3 separate regions of the Homo sapiens genome follow, and all the other regions are linked to region 1. Evidence: promoter capture Hi-C in 16 types of primary human blood cells and fetal thymus (Javierre and others, 2016). All regions are on one chromosome and are shown on one strand. The core of a region is centred on a gene start or on the middle of the fragment in contact, and the rest is flanking DNA. Distances in the headings are between cores, read along the strand shown. Region 1 holds the start of ATF4 (activating transcription factor 4). Region 2 overlaps ADSL (adenylosuccinate lyase). Region 3 overlaps TNRC6B (trinucleotide repeat containing adaptor 6B).

Region 1 (4,187 bases), core at 1,133-3,632:
ACTGGGTCTCCATTTTCAGCTAGGGGAACCTTTGAAGTGTTTGAGCTAGGTCTCTATAAAAGAATGGATGGGACAGGCTGCCATGGGAGTCATTCTTTTATGACCTTTTCAGTGTCAAAATTGGGGCAGTGTTACTTTAATACTCAACCATTTGCACAGTCATCTGTCAGGAGGTACTGTCTATAGCAAAAGGAGAACACGTCCTGTGGGTCCCTAGTTCTGCCTTTGGAAGACATGGCTAATGGCTCAGGTATTCTTACTGCCTTTGCATGGAAAGGCTAGAAAACTCCTGTATTTTTTTTTTTTTTAAAGACAGGGTCTTGCTCTGTTGCCCAGGCTGAGTTGCAGTGTTGTGATCACAGCTCACTGCAGCTTGGAATTCCTGGGCTCAAGCAATCCTCCCACCTCGGCTTGAGTAGGTGGGGCTACAGGCTGGAGCCACTGCTCCTGGCGCCAACTTCTGTATATCTCAACACTCACGATTCCCCAAGGAGAAAGAAAAAACATACTTTTATTCCAGCATCCAGTATGCCTTGTGTATACCAGTTTTAAAGTTGTTGGTTTCATCTCATTAAATAATAATGAAGAGTCCTCTGAGGCAGCAGGAGGATGTGATGGAGAGTGGCAGAAGTCAGGGTCAGGAGACCTGAGTTCTATGAACAGTGGCAGCAACAGCAACCATTATTGGGCGCTTACATGTACCAGGCAGGCACTGTGCTAAGTGCTTTACATGTATGATCTCACTTCATGAGGCAAGGATACTCATCAGTAGTCTCATTTTACAAATGAGGAAACTGAGGCTCAGAGAGTATAAGTCATTTAGCCAAAATGTCCCAGCCAGGATTCTTTTGGATGCGCTCCCCAAAATCTGTCTTCTAACTCCTACCCCATACTCCCTCCACTGGGAGCCTTGTGACTTTGAGCAAGAAGCTTCATCCCATTGGGCCTCGGTTTACCATTGGAAAGGATTTGTGGGCGAGGTTGAATGAGCGCAGCAGATGGCCTGTGGTTATTTAGAGCAGTGCTTCCCTGGTTGTTTGATATCACAGCGCTCATACTTGTGTGGCCCAGTGAAATGGAGGCGGAAACTCAAAGTTTCCACCTTCACAGGGCCTGACTGGAAGGGGCTGAAGGATGATGGGGAGGTTTCTTGTATTCTTAAAACAGACTACCCCTTCCCAACGCACAACCCCCAGTAAGTGGCCGTGGGTTCCCAAGCGCCTCTCCTCCCTGGGCCATGGGCGTGACTGCTGAAAAGCGGGTTAGGCCGGGGAGTTCAGAATCCGGAGTGAATCCGAACTACCCCAGGGAGACGGCAGCGAAGAAAATCTTGTTCTTAGGAGAACGCAATCTTCGGACACCAGAAGTTCCTCTATGATGCTATTCTGTGGCAGCCTTGCACTTGAGCCGGATGAAAATTGTAAAAACCCAGGTTGGGCGACAGGACGGCGCGTCTTCCCGGCTCCTTTCCAGAGTTTAGGAGGAGCCATGCAGACTCAGCCGGCCTTTGGGGGTAGGTGGACAGGCCCGGCGCGCCCTCTCGAGGCCCCTTCAACCTCCCGGGGGCAGCAGCGCCGTGTCGGCTATGAATGGGGCCTCTGGAAAACTCAGGCTTGGAACAGGTAACCCCCCGGTTTCCGCAGGCCACAAATCACCACCCGCAACCGAAGGACGCGCAGGCTGGGAGCGGCGGCGGGGCCACCAGTGCGGACCTCCACTGAGGGCGGCGGGATCCGACCGCAAGGGCTGGTCCCTGAGGCCACTAAGGGGTGCGCTGGGCTAAGGCCGCCTGGGGGCAGGAGCCAGCGCGATCGTGGCGGGCCAGCAGGCGGGGCTGGCTGAGGACTAGCAGCGACCCGAGACCCCAACCCTTCCCACGCGGACCCCGGGATCCCTCTCCCAGCAGCCGCCCATCTAGGGCCCTGAGCCAATAAGAGCTCGAGATATATATGATTCACCGGGCCTGGGCCAATCACCTTGACGCGCGCTCTTCGCCAGCACCTCGCGCGATAACCTGGCGTCCTCGGCCTTCACAATAAAAACTCTTCGCCGGAAAACGACCTTTCCCCGCCCACTGCGCTGACACCGGAAGCGAGGCGTGTCTGGGAGATCACTCCGCGCTCCGGCGGCGAAGGAAAGAACGGACTCTGATCATAGAAGCCTAGTAAAGTAGTACACCTCTCTCCTTTCGTGAGGCCATAAGAACAAACTCCTTTTCTCGTCACAGCTACGCCCTGGGCATAAACGGTTGGGGCGTCAAAGGGAGGGAGGGAAGGGAGCGGGCGGGAGGAGACGGTCACGTGGTCGCGGCGGAAGGATGCGTCTGTGCTGCGTCCCCATAGAGACGAAGTCTATAAAGGGCCGGCGGGCGGCCACGGCAGCCATTTCTACTTTGCCCGCCCACAGATGTAGTTTTCTCTGCGCGTGTGCGTTTTCCCTCCTCCCCGCCCTCAGGGTCCACGGCCACCATGGCGTATTAGGGGCAGCAGTGCCTGCGGCAGCATTGGCCTTTGCAGCGGCGGCAGCAGCACCAGGCTCTGCAGCGGCAACCCCCAGCGGCTTAAGCCATGGCGTGAGTACCGGGGCGGGTCGTCCAGCTGTGCTCCTGGGGCCGGCGCGGGTTTTGGATTGGTGGGGTGCGGCCTGGGGCCAGGGCGGTGCCGCCAAGGGGGAAGCGATTTAACGAGCGCCCGGGACGCGTGGTCTTTGCTTGGGTGTCCCCGAGACGCTCGCGTGCCTGGGATCGGGAAAGCGTAGTCGGGTGCCCGGACTGCTTCCCCAGGAGCCCTACAGCCCTCGGACCCCGAGCCCCGCAAGGGTCCCAGGGGTCTTGGCTGTTGCCCCACGAAACGTGGCAGGAACCAAGATGGCGGCGGCAGGGCGGCGGCGCGGGCGTGAGTCAAGGGCGGGCGGTGGGCGGGGCGCGGCCGCCCTGGCCGTATTTGGACGTGGGGACGGAGCGCTTTCCTCTTGGCGGCCGGTGGAAGAATCCCCTGGTCTCCGTGAGCGTCCATTTTGTGGAACCTGAGTTGCAAGCAGGGAGGGGCAAATACAACTGCCCTGTTCCCGATTCTCTAGATGGCCGATCTAGAGAAGTCCCGCCTCATAAGTGGAAGGATGAAATTCTCAGAACAGCTAACCTCTAATGGGAGTTGGCTTCTGATTCTCATTCAGGCTTCTCACGGCATTCAGCAGCAGCGTTGCTGTAACCGACAAAGACACCTTCGAATTAAGCACATTCCTCGATTCCAGCAAAGCACCGCAACATGACCGAAATGAGCTTCCTGAGCAGCGAGGTGTTGGTGGGGGACTTGATGTCCCCCTTCGACCAGTCGGGTTTGGGGGCTGAAGAAAGCCTAGGTCTCTTAGATGATTACCTGGAGGTGGCCAAGCACTTCAAACCTCATGGGTTCTCCAGCGACAAGGCTAAGGCGGGCTCCTCCGAATGGCTGGCTGTGGATGGGTTGGTCAGTCCCTCCAACAACAGCAAGGGTGAGTGGGCCACCACCACATCGTCCTGGTGGGATCTAGGGTTAGGGGCCTCCTACCTTTGTATCTGACTCACTTGGCCCCATCACTCAAATGTTTTGCAGAGGATGCCTTCTCCGGGACAGATTGGATGTTGGAGAAAATGGATTTGAAGGAGTTCGACTTGGATGCCCTGTTGGGTATAGATGACCTGGAAACCATGCCAGATGACCTTCTGACCACGTTGGATGACACTTGTGATCTCTTTGCCCCCCTAGTCCAGGAGACTAATAAGCAGCCCCCCCAGACGGTGAACCCAATTGGCCATCTCCCAGAAAGTTTAACAAAACCCGACCAGGTTGCCCCCTTCACCTTCTTACAACCTCTTCCCCTTTCCCCAGGGGTCCTGTCCTCCACTCCAGATCATTCCTTTAGTTTAGAGCTGGGCAGTGAAGTGGATATCACTGAAGGAGATAGGAAGCCAGACTACACTGCTTACGTTGCCATGATCCCTCAGTGCATAAAGGAGGAAGACACCCCTTCAGATAATGATAGTGGCATCTGTATGAGCCCAGAGTCCTATCTGGGGTCTCCTCAGCACAGCCCCTCTACCAGGGGCTCTCCAAATAGGAGCCTCCCATCTCCAGGTGTTCTCTGTGGGTCTGCCCGTCCCAAACCTTACGATCCTCCTGGAGAGAAGATGGTAGCAGCAAAAGTAA
Region 2 (3,677 bases), core at 594-3,093, 840 kb after region 1:
ACCTGGGTAGGATGACAGGTTGAGGCATTCTCACACTGGACACATGGATTATTATAAGGATGTGTCTTTTCTTTCCAAGGTAGAGCAGCTTGACAAGATGGTGACAGAAAAGGCAGGATTTAAGAGGTAGGTAAATGGGAATGTGTTGGCCTCCCTGTTAAGTTGATGGAAGTCCTATATTCAGTATACCTGCAGATTTGACCTTACAATTTTTGCCTTTTTCTTCCTTTGTTCTTCTACCCATTTTTTTTTTTCCTGTCTCTATCCTGGGTTTTACTTTCTTACTATCTGGATTCTTTTTTTTTTTTTTTTTTTTTCGCCTAATCGTCTTGCTGACATATTTTCTGGATTTCATTTTATTTTATTATTGTTTTTGAGACAGGGTCTTACTCTGTCACCCAGGCTGGAGTGCAGCGGTGTGATCTCGGCTCACGGCAGCCTCCGCCTCCCAGTTTCAAGCAGTCCTTCCACCTAAGCCCCCTGTGACTACAGGCATGCCTGGCTAATTTTTGTATTGTTTTTGTATAATTTTTGTATTGTTTTGTAGAGACCATGTTGCCCAGGCTGGTCTCCAACTCCTGAGATCAAGCGATCCACCTGCCTCAGCCTCAAAGTGCTAGGATTATAGGCATGAGCCACCATGCCTGACCTGCATTCTCTTTTTGTATAATCTATAGGAAAAAAGAAAATGATTTACTTCTGGTTTCTTTAGAATACCTTTATCCATGTTGTTACCATTTTTGTTTCTTTACTTAGGGCCCCCAACAGGTTAGGCTAAATCTGACCATTTCCATTGAGGTCCACCAGGTTCCACCATGGCTCCTTCTCCCAGGCATTTCTATTGGGCTGTGGCCAGACATGGGCACGTTGCACCATGTATCCTTCTTGAGTCAGGCCATTGTCCTGAGTATTAGTGAAAAGGGTGGAAGAATAGTTTATTCCAGGAGCAAGTTACCACTCAGGTCCACTGGTTGAGTATAACTTAGCATACCAATAAGACCAAGCTTTTCTTTAGGATGTGTTTTTCCTTGTTTGACAGAGTCATGTTTTGAATTATTATTATTTTATAAGAGTCTCCCAGTGATGCTTAGGCTGGCCTTAACCTCCTGAGTTAAAGCAGTCCTCCTCCGTTAGCCTCCTAAGTAGCTGGGACTACAGTCATGCACCACTGCAATGGCTTTAAAATATTTTAACCTAAGTCTCTCTTGTACTTATTCCTAGAGCTTTCATCATCACAGGGCAGACATATACACGAAAAGTGGATATTGAAGTACTGTCTGTGCTGGCTAGCTTGGGGGCATCAGTGCACAAGGTGAGTGGTGGCAGCATGTGGGGTGGGGACAGGAGCTTTGGGCACCACAGACAGACTGAATTAACCTCAGACTTTTACTTAACCATCTCTCTCAAGCAATATTTTACATTAGTTTTAATAATTTGTGGTCTGTAAATGAAACCCTTAAGGGGAAGACTCGTTTTGGCATTTTCTTTAAAGTTATCTCAAGCACTGCAAAACATCCATCTTGTTCAGTGGTATATTAAATTAATCTTTTTTTTTTTTCGAGATGGAGTTTCGCTCTTGTTGCCCAGGCTGGAGTGCAATGGTATGATCTCGGCTCACTGCAACCTCCACCTCCTGGGTTCGAGCGAGCCTCCCAAGTAGCTGGGATTACAGGCATGCACCACAATGTCTGGCTAATTTTAGTAGAGGCAGGGTTTCACCATGTTGGCCAGGCTGGTCTCGAACTCCTGACCTCAGGTGATCCACCCACCTCAGCCTCCCAAAATGCTGGGATTACAGGTGTGAGCCACCGCGCCCATCCTGAATTAATCTTGTGATTTTCTTTCCATGATGCCTTAAGCAGTGTTTCACAAAAGCGTTTTCATGCTCCTTGAATTTGTCATCCCAGTCCTTCGGGAACAGAGAGGAGTCGGAGTAAGATACTCTGCAGGAGCTCTTTGGGAGGATGCGCTGGTCTTCAGCTCAGCCACAGCACACCTAAGAGCTCATCTCCTTCATCAGCCTAGTCACAGCTCCCAGACTCTACTGCACACTGACAGTGTGGGGTGATGCTTATTCCCCTACCTCCCCCAGATTTGCACCGACATACGCCTCCTGGCAAACCTCAAGGAGATGGAGGAACCCTTTGAAAAACAGCAGATTGGTGAGTGCTGTGTAGAGACCTGTGAGCACACATTGCTGCTGGAAGGCTGTGGATGGGGGCTGAGAGCTCATTCAGCATGCTTGCCTACTCACTATCCTCTGAAGTCTCTCTGCCTTTGCATCTTGTCCTTTTTTTACATGGGCAGGCTCAAGTGCGATGCCATATAAGCGGAATCCCATGCGTTCAGAACGTTGCTGCAGTCTTGCCCGCCACCTGATGACCCTTGTCATGGACCCGCTACAGACAGCATCTGTCCAGTGGTTTGAACGCACACTGGATGATAGTGCCAACCGGTCAGTGGCACAGGGACATCACATACACCAAGTTGAGTGGAGGTCTGAAGGAGGGACCTAGAAGTAAAAGGACATATTTGAGCATCTCTACAGTCTCCTTATCCCCAAGGATCCCAGAGTCTAGCAGGGAGGCAAAAACATAAAAAGGACAGTGTGATAAGTGTTACAATTGGAGTGTGTACTGGGTACTGTGGAGCAAAGAGGAAGGAATAGTGTTTGAGGAGTCAGAAAGCTTCACAGTAGAGGTGATGCCTTAAGACTTAAGAAATACATGCATCTTTTAAAGACAAGATCGGGAGCATTATAAAGGCACAAAGCAGGAGAAAACACACTTGAGGGAGTTACTACTACTTGAGTAGCCCTGGGGAATGAAGTCAACATGTGCCAGGAGGTGGGGCAGGACATGGTCACAGATAGCCAGTTTATGAAAGGTCTTCTGGGTCTTTTCTGAAGGCAGATAGATGTCAGTTGTGGTGTCTAGGCACAATGACATCTTGATTAGTTATGAGATGAGTCAGAAATAATTTGTAACTACTGTTGAGGTGCCAACATGCGCATCATTTTCTGTTTTATGTATATACTCACTTAAAGCAGATTGGCATTACTCTCGCCTGCTCGCATTTTGCTGGAATTTCTTGAGTGGATACGGATGTATAGTTAAACCTAGCTTTCTGGGATCTGTGCATAATCCACGATTTATCTCTGGAAATAAGTCATGTGAACTCATTCAGAAGTCAGCCATTGAATACTTTTTAGCAAGGTGTGACCCTGTAGGTCTGCTGATTTGCCTGCTAAAAGACCCTAGCAACAGTTTGGAGAGTTGGCTGTAAGGAGACAGGGATCATGTCAGAACAAGTTAGGGGCTACTTTAAAAGTCTGAGGCCACATTGGTGCAGTGGCCATGTAAATGGAGAGGAAGGATATAGATCCAGAGTCGAAGGCAGACTGGCCAGCCCAGCCCTGGTGGTTGACCGGAGTGAGTATAAAGAGCTTGGTGAGTGGGGCGCTACTGCCATTTACTGAGGCAGGAGCTACAAGGGAGGAATGGCAGGTATGTAATGGTGAGTAGGAGGAATGAGAAAGTGGCTGAGTTCAGTTTGGGGATTGAGGTACCCATAGATCAACCAGGTGGACGTCTCACTCAGTAGGTATGAGGTCTGGCACTTGAGCAAGTGGTCTGGCCTAGAGGTGACAGATTTGAGGGTCGTGAGGTTATTGGGGT
Region 3 (4,187 bases), core at 560-3,059, 660 kb after region 1:
TATTTAGAAAGAGGTTTTTAAAAAACACAGACCTCCCCCTCCCCCCTTAAATCTGCTGCAAAAATTTGCATAAATATAAATGGGTTTGCATTCTTTCGGCTGCTAAGGCCGACAAAGGATCTGGGAGGGCAAGCCCTAGAACGGGAAAGCCTTTTTCTATCTTTTTATTTTTTAAACTGGGCCCTCCTTCCTAGAGAGATGTAAAACCTAAAGTAAGACCTAATACATTTTAAACATCAGGTTGGGGGCGGGTGAACACCAGGAGGTTTGGGGTTTGTAGATTCCCCTGCTTGAAAACCTCCCAAGCAATATGTGGCTCACCCCTCTCCTTTCTGCGCGCGCTCATTTGCACTGGGTCTCTGTGTGTGTTCTCAAATGTGCAGCCAGATGCGCTTTTATTTTGATCCTGGATTCAACCAAAGGGTAGGACTATGTTGTAAACATGGTGTTTTAAAGATATGAACAGCTATTCACCGCGATTAGAAATTATTTCTTTATCAGTTCTCCCTGTGTATTAGCCTTCTTCATTCCTCACGAAATAAAATTTTTGTTTAATTTTACACAGATGCAAAACTGAGTTTTTCAGCATAAATTCATCGTGTGAGTGTGTGGTTGCCTGTTTCGGCCATGTATCCACTGCGAAGTGGTCATTTAGGGTCACATGTATAAGTAGCAGTCTATGTGATTGTTAGTAACCCCTGAAGCTGTGCAGTGCCTGAAGTTAAATTCCATTACTCCTAATGCAGGATTCTGGAAGCCTGAGAGCAGGGAGGAAAGAAAGCTGAAAACTTGCTTTCTCAGAGCCTCCTCCCCCTATCATTGTGAGAGTGTGATGTAATGCTTCTCGGTCTGGTGGGCTGAAAGGATTGTAGTTTGTGATGTGGCGGGTAAATTGCCCCCACCCCTGGGTAAATTACTCCACCCCCCTGAGCACATCCCTGGCTCTGAGAGGCCTTGTTTTCTTTTCTCTTTTTTTCCTAATTTGTATCCTCCTGATTTATGCTGTGGCATATTGGCATGAGAAAGAGACTGTTCTTCTAAATCTGTTACAAAGTATAGTTTAGAAAAGGCATTTAAAATATGCAAATGGGTTGAATTGTCATATCCCCATCATTAAATATGTAGACGTGGATTAAAGCTAATTAAGCATAAATGGAATAATTTTGATCAGAAGGGAGCAGTGTTTTTTGTTGTTTCCTTTTTAATTAATCTAATTATGAGATGCTTACTGGGCCTGAAAGTGTTAAAAAAGATAAAGTGGAAAAAATGCTGGACCATTTTGAAAATTTGACAGTCTGGAAGAGGGTGTGTGGTGCTTTCAAAAGCTTTATTCACTCTTAAAATGGATTGGCCTCTTGTGCTGAAAATGGCCTGTTTCTTTGGGCCAATTGTGTGTAGATGAAGGGACTTTCACGCTAATTTAACAAAAAGACTTTCCATTTGAATACATAAGATAATTAAAGCCCTCTGTCTCTAACAAGCAAGGATTTTATTATTTTAAAAAATTAATGTTGTTATGTTAGTAATGGTAATAAATACAGAAGTGACTGTTTAGATTCACTGTAAATTTTTTGATGATATAAATTCAGCTTTTGTGTAAGAAGGATTGGAAACATTACATTAAAGAGGTAGTCTGGAACAAAGTTGTCTCTAAATTTTTTTACGGCTTGAATTTAAAGGGAAAAGATAGAGAAATTACCTTAGTGATAGAGAATGTTGCATTGTGGTAGACCTAAAGGAAAATCAGCTCTGATTTTTGTTGCTGTTTTTCTGAAAATGAAAGCACTTTTTTGGGGCTTTGCTTGTTATATGATTCATTTTACACCTATTTCCTAAAGTTGGTCTTACTGAAGAGGAGATAAAACCTAGGCTTTCCATGTTTTGCCATTATCTTGTTTTTGTGGCTGTGTAAACATATGAATGGCAGGTTAATTCAGTTTGCAGAGAGGAGGAACCAGAGCAGGGTACCTGCTGTCTTAGGCAGAACAGAGAATGATACAATGAATGCCATTTGATTCTTTGAAATGTTTTTTATAAATATTCTTTTCCCCTGGATAATTAAAAGGTGAGATAAATAAGACCTGGCTTCACGTATGGGAAGCATTATGGCTCTGGTGAGTTGATAGCTCGACTGCCATTTTGGATCTCAGATCCTGCAGAGCCAATCCTTCTGGCTCACCAACACGATGGTCATCCAGAAGGAAATGAAAATGAGTAATCAATTAAGTGTGCAGATGGATAGTATTTAATTTGTGCCTTCTGTTGAAGTTTTCTTTCTGTGAGTACTGTGAATTGAAGCTTTAAAAACTTTAAAGATGTGGCCGATGTTATGAAGAGCAATATCCAGGGGTGCTGGAACTTGCACGTTGTAGTTTTACTTTTTAAAAATGAGATGGCATATGCAGAGGAAGTTTCTTATTGGAGAAAGTGAATATAATCCCTATTAACTGCCACCCCCCCCACCAATCTATATTTCCTAATGCTGGATCAACTAGTGATAATATCACAACATTACTCTGTCTCAGAAAAAAATGTCACAGGTTCATGACTGAAAGATCACAAAAATTGGTAGCGTTCATCAGAAGTGGTATCTCAATTTTAAAGTGCTTTTCAGTCATTCCATCTGGTTCCCAGAAAGGAAGCTTTGGCATCTTTGATATATGGTGCAAACTCAGCTCTGTTCTTCAGCTGTGAATGGCCATTTGTTATTCTGTGTGGCCACTCGGATGGTCCTTTAAAAATAAACTTCCGAACATTGAAGCAGAGACTTCTAAGGCTTCTCCAGCTCTTCAGCTCTACAAGAGACACTAGAAGAGTGTTATGCGATGATGAGACCTTCAGGTTCTGCAGAGCAGGCTGAGCAGCTCTGGCTATTGAGGACCACCCTGAGGAATAAGGGTGGTCCTCACCCTACCCAGCTGCTCCTCACCCTACCCAGCTGCTCCATGACTGAAAAGTTTGGAAAGATTTTAATTTTTATAACTCAGATCATATAATCATTGATCATCTGCAGTTTAAGCTGGACACAGCCCTGAGGCAATGCAGATAGATGAATGTACTTTGTCCCTTTCCTCAAGGAGTACCAGGTCAGCATTATTGGTAAACAGATCGTCACAACTTGGCAGTTTATGTGCAATATTCAGAGCAAGTTCCTGGTTACAGAAGTATCTGAGTATCTGCATTAGGAGGGTCCTTGTTTTAAAATTTCTTAAAGAAGCCAAATAGGCCAGTCGTGGTGGCTCACGCCTGTGATCACTTTGGGAGTCCCAGGCAGGCTGATTGCTTGAGCTCAGGAGTTTGAGACCAGCCTGGGCAACATGGCAAAACCCTGTCCCTACAAGAAATTTTAAACAAAATTAGCTGGGCATGGTGGCTCACGCCTGTCATCTCAACTACTCAGGAGGCTGAGAGGTGAAAGGATAGTTTGAGCCAGTGATGTTGACACTGCAGTTAGCCAAGATCGTGCCACTGCATTCCAGCCTAGGAAACAGCTAGACCCTGTCTCGAGAGAAAAAAAAAAAAGCCAGCCGGGCGTGGTGGCTCACGCCTGTAATCCCAGCACTTTGGGAGGTCGAGGTGAGTGGATACGAGGTCAGGAGTTCGAGACCAGCCTGGACAATATGGTGAACCCTTGTCTCTACTAAAAATACAAAAAAACTAGCCAAGGGTGGTGGCGCCTGCCTGTAATCCCAGCTACTCGGGAGGCTGAGGCAGGAGAATCGTTTGAACCCAGGAGTCGGAGGTTGCAGTGAGCCGAGATTGTGCCACTGCACTCCATCCTGGGCAGTACAGGGAGACTCCGTCTCAAAAAAAAAAGAAAAGAAAAGAAAAAAAAGCCAAATAATTACCCCATTTAATAATTTTTAGTTATTTAGATATTAGACTTCTTTAAGTGGAACTTGTTTCTGTCTGGTGGCTGGGGAGAGGGACAGCATATGCTAATTGTTTCTCTGTACAGTATTGTTCGTGGATTTACTCTAATCCCACTTTCCTCACCTGCTTGTGATTAAGACGGGTGTCAGGGGTAGGGTGGAGTGAATTGAAGCCACTTGGCCAGAAAAGGGATTTATTTAACTCATGGCAGTGACATCTTAACATTGTTTTCTTCTTTCCGTCATATATTTGTTCAGCAGTAATTTATTAAGCACTGATGTAGGTGCTGGGGCATCTAAGAATTAATTTGGTTG

Evidence for each region. The method cuts DNA at HindIII sites, captures the fragments that hold promoters and counts their contacts. A CHiCAGO score of 5 or more calls a contact.
Region 2: a contact is called between a fragment that was not itself captured here and the fragment with the promoter of ATF4 in region 1, in 1 of 17 cell types (naive CD4 T cells). The highest score is 5.8, in naive CD4 T cells.
Region 3: a contact is called between a fragment that was not itself captured here and the fragment with the promoter of ATF4 in region 1, in 1 of 17 cell types (fetal thymus). The highest score is 5.9, in fetal thymus.

What each region holds. Positions count from the first base shown.
Region 1 is chr22:39,518,180-39,522,366 of GRCh38, forward strand. It overlaps ATF4 (activating transcription factor 4), which reads left to right and starts at 2,383. Exons shown (of 3, transcript NM_182810.3): 1 at 2,383-2,572; 2 at 3,175-3,492; 3 at 3,594-4,187. The coding sequence starts at 3,267. RefSeq lists a silencer at 1,721-1,920 and enhancers at 2,301-2,450, 2,811-2,860. The HindIII fragment of the contact is 5,669 bases long and covers 929-4,187 here.
Region 2 is chr22:40,359,181-40,362,857 of GRCh38, forward strand. It overlaps ADSL (adenylosuccinate lyase), which reads left to right. Exons shown (of 13, transcript NM_000026.4): 6 at 80-126; 7 at 1,222-1,312; 8 at 2,093-2,162; 9 at 2,308-2,455. Among named protein-coding and RNA genes, the nearest start is that of SGSM3, 9.6 kb to the right of the region's middle. The HindIII fragment of the contact is 1,683 bases long and covers 1,003-2,685 here.
Region 3 is chr22:40,178,439-40,182,625 of GRCh38, forward strand. All of the region lies in intron 1 of TNRC6B (trinucleotide repeat containing adaptor 6B), which reads left to right. Among named protein-coding and RNA genes, the nearest start is that of TNRC6B, 2.6 kb to the left of the region's middle. The HindIII fragment of the contact is 973 bases long and covers 1,324-2,296 here.